2 separate regions of the Homo sapiens genome follow, and region 2 is linked to region 1. The links are contacts of gene promoters, found by promoter capture Hi-C in human tissues and cell types (Jung and others, 2019). All regions are on one chromosome and are shown on one strand. Each heading gives the region's core, a stretch centred on a gene start or on the middle of the fragment in contact. The rest is flanking DNA. Distances are from core to core; before and after follow the strand shown. Region 1 holds the start of TRIM28 (tripartite motif containing 28). Region 2 has its middle 5.0 kb from the start of ZNF548.

Region 1 (3,494 bases), core at 787-3,286:
TTCCCACCCTCTCCCACCTAGGCCCTAGAGACTACACACCACAACCCCAGTTTTTCTGCTTCTGGAGTTCTGCCCTCGGGCCCTTCGGGCGGCACCCCCTAGAGAACTCTAGGACCCATCCACCAGATGCAACCAACATCATAAAAGCAACTGAGGGCACACATGGGAGAACAACTCCAACAGCCCCCCTCAGCCTCATGTACCAGTAGAGCGCACAGTATGGTCCTTGGTGTACTTCACCCGCTGGTGCGCCTCTACACAGGTCTCACACAGAGGCTCCGAGCACTCCACACAGTAGCTGGTGGCTGGGGCATTATCCTCACAGCTAGTGCAGCACTGCCAGACAAAGGCAGGGTCAGAGAAGGCAAGACAACTTGATAGATCCACGTTTACATCCCAGAAAATACAACCGGAGATTTAAGATTGGTCCCTTGACCCAACCTAGGCAGCCCACCCAGAGCCTTGGGAAAGTGGAGTAACAGCCTGGAGCTGGTGCCAAGCTCCTCCTGCGCAGATGCCCCCTCCCCAGAAACCTCCTTGTGGTTGCTGAGATAGGACGCACCTGGTTCGCATCCTGGGCGTCGGTGGCAGCCTTGCTGCCACTATCACGCATGAAATAATTCTCCACGATGTCTTTGGAGAAGCACTGTTGCTTGCACACGGGACAGTCCACCACTTCGAGAAGCAGGGATGTGGGAGACTGTTACAAGTTCCCACCCAGGTTATGGCCCCCACCATTCCCCTGCTGGGTGGGCCCCCGACCATTATCCCGCAGCGAACCAGCCCCTCCCCTCCCCGAGCCTTCTTTTCTCCAACTTTAGTCAGATGTCCCATCTCAGCGGCCAGCACAAACCCACGTTCGTATGCAGGACCCAGAAAGTATTTCCCGTGCCCTGTCCGGGCCCCCATCCTCTCGCCCAGGTGGCATCCTCATCTCTGCACCCAGTCGGAATCAAAGGCAGAGAGTAGGGGGAGGGGTGGCACCGATCACTTCGTACTTACCGGTGCCGTCGCCCGCCGCCCCGCCGTCCCCCGAGCTGTTGGCGGCGGCGGGGGCCGCGGGCCCTAAGCAGGCACTACAGGCCGAGTGCAAACAGGGCAGCAGGCGGGGCTCCCTCTCGGGTCGCAGGCGCTCTCTGCACACGCCGCAGTGCTCCAGCAGCTCCAGCGCCTCGGCGCCGCCCCCCGCGGGCGACGACGCCGCGGCTGAGGCAGAGGCCGAGGCTGCGGCCGAAGGGGCGGTGGAGCGCTTTTCGCCGCCAGCGGAGCCCTCGCCCGGGCCCGGGCTGCCAGAGGCGGCCGAGGCCGCTGCTGCCGAGGCTGCCGCCGCGGAGGCCGCCATTCACACGCCGCCGGGGGCGCCCAGGGGGGGAGGAGGGGCGCGGGGCCCGCCGCGCAGGCGCAGACGCGCTCGCCGCCAACTGCTGGGCCGCTGCCGCCGCCGCCGCCGCGAGGCCGAGCGCCGCCACGCGCCTCCTGGGCCGCTGCCCGCCGCGCGCGGGACGCTGCTACGGCACGGCCAACTGCTGCCTGCTCGCCTCCCGAAGGCGCCGCCCGCGCTTCTTCCTCAGCCGCCGCCGAAACCCGCACCACGCGCCACAAGCACAAGCACAACCGCTCGCCCGCGCGCCCGCTCGCAGAAAGAGCCGAGGCCGGGGGGCGGGACAGAAATAACTGGCGCCGACGCCGCCGCGCACGCGCATTGGGCGCCTCACGCCCGGGGGCGGGGCCCAGGCCGGTCGGTGCGGGAGAGGCCGCCAGTACGCACGCGCCAACTCCTAGTCCTTCCACCACCGCCAACCCCACGTCGGTGGGGCTCTTGTGGGGGCGGGGCGGGGCCTCTGTGACGTCACTGCCGCAATTGAATCCGCCAGTGGGGTATGCGAACCTTTATAGAGTGTGATTCCCCTCTCAGCTCCACCTCCAGACCACACAGAAGCGGGCCGCTGTGCGCCCAAGCGCATGGGCAATCCGTCCCTCTTCCTCAACCCGCGTCTCTTCGCCGCCGTAGAGTCGTCTCCAGCCTCTGCGTCACTAAGAGTTCGGGATAGGGGGCAGGGCCGATGGAGAAGTAGGCGGGGCCAAGACCGAGTGAAGGGCTGTGTCCAGGGAGAGGGGAGGAGAGTCTCCATCCCAAGAGGGAGGAAGCTCCTGTGTGAGCTCGGGTGCTGACTTTTGGATTTTAACCACGCTATAGTTAAACTTGAGAAACACAGAAACTTGACTGAATCAAATGTAGATCACAGCCGGGCGCCGTGGCTCATACCTGTAATCCCACCACTTTCTTAGGCGAGTCGGGAAGCTCCGTTTAGCCCAGGAGGCCGAGGCAGCAGTGAGGCGGGATTGTGCCACTGCACGCCAGCCTAGACCACAGATGGAGAAAAATGTGGCCGGGCGCGGCGGCTCACGCCTGTAATTCCAGCACTTTGGGAGGTCGAGGCGGTTGGATCTTAAGTCAGGAGTTCGAGAGCAGCCTGGCCAACGTGGTGAAACCCCGTCTCTACTAAAAGTACAAAAAGTAGCCGGGCGTGGTGGCAGGCGCCTGTAATCCCAGCTACTCGGGAGGCTGAGGCAGGAGAATCGCTTGAACCCGGGAGGCGGAGGTTGCAGTGAGCCGAGATCGTGCCATTGCACTACAGCCTGGGAGAAAAGAGTGAAACTCCATCTCAAAAGAGGAGAGAAAGGTTTTTGTGTTTGTTTTGAGACGGAGTTTTGCTCTGTTGCCCAGGCTGGAGTGCAGTGGCACGATCTCGGCTCGCTGCAACCTCCGCCTCCCGGGTTCAAGCGATTCTTCTGCCTCAGCCTCCCGAGTAGCTGGGATTACAGGGGCCTGCCATCACGCCTGGCTAATTTTTGTATTTTTAATAGAGACGGGGTTTCACCACGTTGGCCAGGCTGGTCTCGAACTCCCGACGTCAGATGATAGACCCACTTTGGCCTCCCAAAGTGCTGGAATTACAGGTGTGAGCCACCACGCCGGGCCCCCCAACCCCCCATCAAGAAAAAAAATATATATATATATATACACATATATATAAATCACAAGAGGCTAAAGAGCAATGAGTCTGTGAAATCCCACCCAGCCCCCCAAGGCATCCCCTCCCCATGTTTTCGTCAGCAGCTACCCTGACTTTGATGCTTTTCCAGATGGGGAAACTGAACCTCAACAGTGGGGAATCCCAAGGAGGGAAGGAAGCAGGTCCATGTGGGGAGAATCCTGTCTGAGGTGGAAAGTAGGGTTTGTGTGGGGAAAATCCTGTCTGAGGGAAAGAGGGTGTGTGTGCGGAGGGGAACCCTGTCTGAGGAGGGAAGCAGGGTCTGTGTGGGGAGAATCCTGTCTGAGGAGGGAAGCAGCGTCTGTGTGGGGAGAATCCTGTCTGAGGAGGGAAGCAGGGTGTGTGTGGGGAGAATCCTGTCTGAGGAGGGAAGCAGGGTGTGTGTGGGGAGAATCCTGTCTGAGGAGGGAAGCAGGTTCTGTGTGGGGAGAATCCTGC
Region 2 (3,667 bases), core at 416-2,915, 1.2 Mb after region 1:
TAGGCCAAGATTCTAAAATTTTTCCAATGGGGGTAAGGCCCAGTACTAAAGATGGTCAATCAGTGGCAGCCCCAGGCTGCTGGCAACAACTAATCCACAAGTGCCTCCTGTCAGTAATCCTGTTTATGAAAGCCAGTTGGTAAATGGTTGCATTTACACTAACATACCTGAAAGTCCATCAGTCTTTCAACTCTGCTGCTTCTGAAAGTCCTCAGTCCCTGAAGGCCAGCCTTCCTAAAAGCTCATATAATAGCAGTTTTGGCTTTGTTTGAGGAGACTGCCTGACCACTACAGCTCTGCCCTGCAGACAAATAGGAATATCACTTTTTTTCCCTTGAGATATCAAAATCTATTTATTCTTTTTTTTTTTTTTGAGACGGAGTCTCACTCTGTCGCTGGGCTGGAGTGCAGTGGTGTGATCTCGGCTCACTGCAACCTCCGCCTCTCCGGTTCAAGTGATTCTCCTGCCTCAGACTCTCAAGTAGCTGGAACTACATATGCACGCCACCACGCCCAGTTAATTTTTTTGTATTTTTAGTAGAGACGGGATTTCACCATGTTGGCCAGGATGGTCTCGATCTCTTGACCTCATGATCCGCCTGCCTCGGCCTCCCAAAGTGCTGGGATTACAGGCATGAGCCACCACGCCTGGCCCCATTTATTCTTAATTGAATATAAATTATTACTTATATTTTAATTATATGAATATAATTTAAAAGTTTGCAAGCTTTCAATGGTTCCATCTGTTTGTAATTAGTTATGAGTTTGGATATGAAATGGTAGACTAACTGACCCAGACATACATTGTAAAATCCAACGTTTTCTCCAGTGTTTTCTTTTTTCTTTCTTTTCTTTTTTTTTTTTAAGATACAGTTTCACTCTGTCACCCAGCTGGAGTGCAGTGGCGCAATCTCGGCTCACTGCAACCTCTGGCTCCCAGGTTCAAGTGATTCTCATGCCTCAGCCTCCCAAGTAGCTGGGATTACAGGCGCGTGGCACCATGCCTGGCTAATTTTTTGTATTTCTATTAGAGATGGGGTTTCGCCATGTTGGCCATACTGGTCTCGAACTCCTGACCTCAAGTGATCTGTCCGCCTAGGCCTCCCAAAGTGCTGCGATTACAGGCATGAGCCACTGTACCCACAATGTTTTTCAACTCTTGTAGAAGTTGCTATTGTCTATATTTTGAGTATATTGAATGCAAAAAATGTCAAAATGCAAGTTTATAATTTATGATGAACTGAGGAGTATTTAAAATTCCCTTTGAAGGTCTTCGACTCTATGTAATTGCCCATTGACTAATGAAAATGGTGGACAGTCAAATATATATTAACTTTGGAAGGTGCATGATTTTCTCAACTAGTTCCAAAGAAAGAGACAAAATAACTTTTTTGTTAAAATCAGATGGAGATGGTAGAATAATTATAATAGAGTTTGTAATGTTTTCTACACTGTTTATCATCATGAGTCTTTAGGCTCAGAATGCTACTGTTGAGTGTGTTTCTCATTAATGAATGTCCAATAGATAAAGGAATGAAATAAGTTGAATATGACAAATGACGAAGGTTTGTCACAACATAAATGGCATCAAGACTGTAACTGCAGGAATTCTGTAAGCAAATTATATAAAACAAGGAATTGTTAAGTAGAAGCAAATTATCAGGGAAAGAGTTATGTCATTAGAACTGTGATCCCCAAGCTTTTTAGTACCAGGGACCGGTTTTGTGGAAGACAATTTTTCCATGGATAAGGGAGAGGGGTTTGGGGGCAGATGGTTTCAGAGGCATTAGATTCTCATAAGGAGCATACAACCTAGATCCCTCTCTTGTGCAGTTCACAGTAGGGTTTGCACCCCTATGAGAATCTAATGCTGCTGCCGATCTGACAGGAGGCGGAGATCAGGCAGCAATGCTCACTCATCTGCCACTCACCCTCTGCTATATGGCCCCATTCCTAACAGGCCATAGTACTCATCTGTGGCCCCAGGGGTTGGGGACCCCTGATTTAGAATGTATTTCAGATAAACAACAAATAATTTTATGATGAGTATGTCACATACAATATTTATCTTTTATCTCACTGCACATATACATAGGGAATTAGAAATAATTCAAATTTAACCAGGTCAAGTATCAGTTACAAAATTTGACAATTCTTTTCATCGTAATTTTTTTCTGAACCTATGCATTATATTGAGCATCCTCATTTTTGAACCTAGTAACTCATTCACAGAATTTCTGCTACCCTTCTTCTTTTTTCTTTTTTTCTTTTTTTTTTTTTGAGACAGAATCTTGCTCTGTCACCCAGGCTGGAGTGCATTGGCGCGATCTCAGCTCACTGCAACCTCTGCCTCCCGGCTTCAAGCGATTCTTCTGCCTCAGCCTCCTGAATAGCTGAGATTATAGGCGCCCGCCACCATGCCCGGCTAATTTTTTTTTTTGCCCTGTCGCCCAGGCTGGAGTGCAATGGCATGATCTCAGCCCACTGCAACCCCCTCTTCCCGGGTTAAAGCAATTCTCCTGCCTCAGCCTCCCGAGTAGCTGTGATTACAGGCACGCACCACCACGCACAGCTAATTTTTTGTATCTTTAGTAGAGATAGGGTTTCACCATGTTGGCCAGGCTGGTCTCGAACTCCTGACCTTATGATCTGCCTGCCTCGGCCTCCCAAAGTGCTGGGATTACAGGCTTGAGCCACTGTGTCTGGCCACTTCTTCTTAATTGTAAATTCTGCTGGTTGGGGGCCCTTTGTTCCAAGGAAGGAGAGGTTCCACCAGAAGTAAATATTATTACATTTAATTGAAGGGTGATACAGCTACTTGTTCATCTGGGGATCCTTGTGTCACTTAAGCAAGAAGGGATTGCTTTTTTGCTTTGGATGAGTTAGGCTGAGTTGCTGCCATGGAATGGGAAGCATAGAGAGTTATGTCTGAGACCAGGGGATTTCTGGGGGATGTTTTGGTAAGTTCATGTTCAGAAATAAAACTAGCAACTCATCGAAGGGAGGACTTCTAAGAATCAGAAGTTTAGGTTTTGATATTTGGGGACATCCTCCAGGTTAAAAAACAAACAAAACCAAAATGCTACCCAGCTGAAGATCCGGCAGAGGCAGAAGAATGGGATGGTGGGGGGAGGGGGGAGCGGGGAGGAGAATGAAAAATCAATTTTCAACCTAAGACCAGTTAAGAAAACAAGAAATCTCAATATTATAGCTATCTTCCTTGTTTACATGTAAGAAATTGACTATAGAAATCAACAATGGCCAAGCCAAATATAAAACAGAACTCTAACCCACTACTGCACTGACCAGCTCAGGAAGCCAACCTGCTATCTACACTAACCAGATGAGGAAATCTCTCTCCCTCTCTCTCTCTCTCTCTCTCTCTCTCTCACTCAAGAGTTTTAAGAGGACAGATTTATCTCAGGTCTAAAATTCTGCCTTCTTTTGTAGTGCATTACCTGATATCATTGGTTTTGGGGGGTACCAGAGATTACTTTGTCCTGTGAAAGAACTTGACGTTTTTGTGCGTAATGGCTGTCACAAGCAAGAGCTGCAGTGTCAGAAGCAGCTGGTGGCAGTTGTTTACAGTAAATGGTTATTACGACAGGAGGCTACTCATTTCTTTGCATGTTTAGATATAAAAGGCATGCTCTAAACACTTACAAAA

What was found. The method cuts DNA at HindIII sites, captures the fragments that hold promoters and counts their contacts. A contact is called where the count stands out against the background at its distance.
Region 2: a contact is called between a fragment that was not itself captured here and the fragment with the promoter of TRIM28 in region 1, in 1 of the 25 tissues and cell types used here (lymphoblastoid cells).

The regions. Positions count from the first base shown.
Region 1 is chr19:58,542,606-58,546,099 of GRCh38, reverse strand. It overlaps TRIM28 (tripartite motif containing 28), which reads right to left and starts at 2,036. Exons shown (of 17, transcript NM_005762.3): 1 at 1,003-2,036; 2 at 563-675; 3 at 204-336. The coding sequence starts at 1,342. It also overlaps the pseudogene RN7SL525P. RefSeq lists silencers at 1,016-1,305, 1,326-1,485, 1,566-1,775 and enhancers at 1,896-2,205, 2,357-2,861. The HindIII fragment of the contact is 31,195 bases long and covers 1-3,494 here.
Region 2 is chr19:57,382,977-57,386,643 of GRCh38, reverse strand. No RefSeq gene overlaps it. Among named protein-coding and RNA genes, the nearest start is that of ZNF548, 5.0 kb to the left of the region's middle. The HindIII fragment of the contact is 6,124 bases long and covers 1-3,667 here.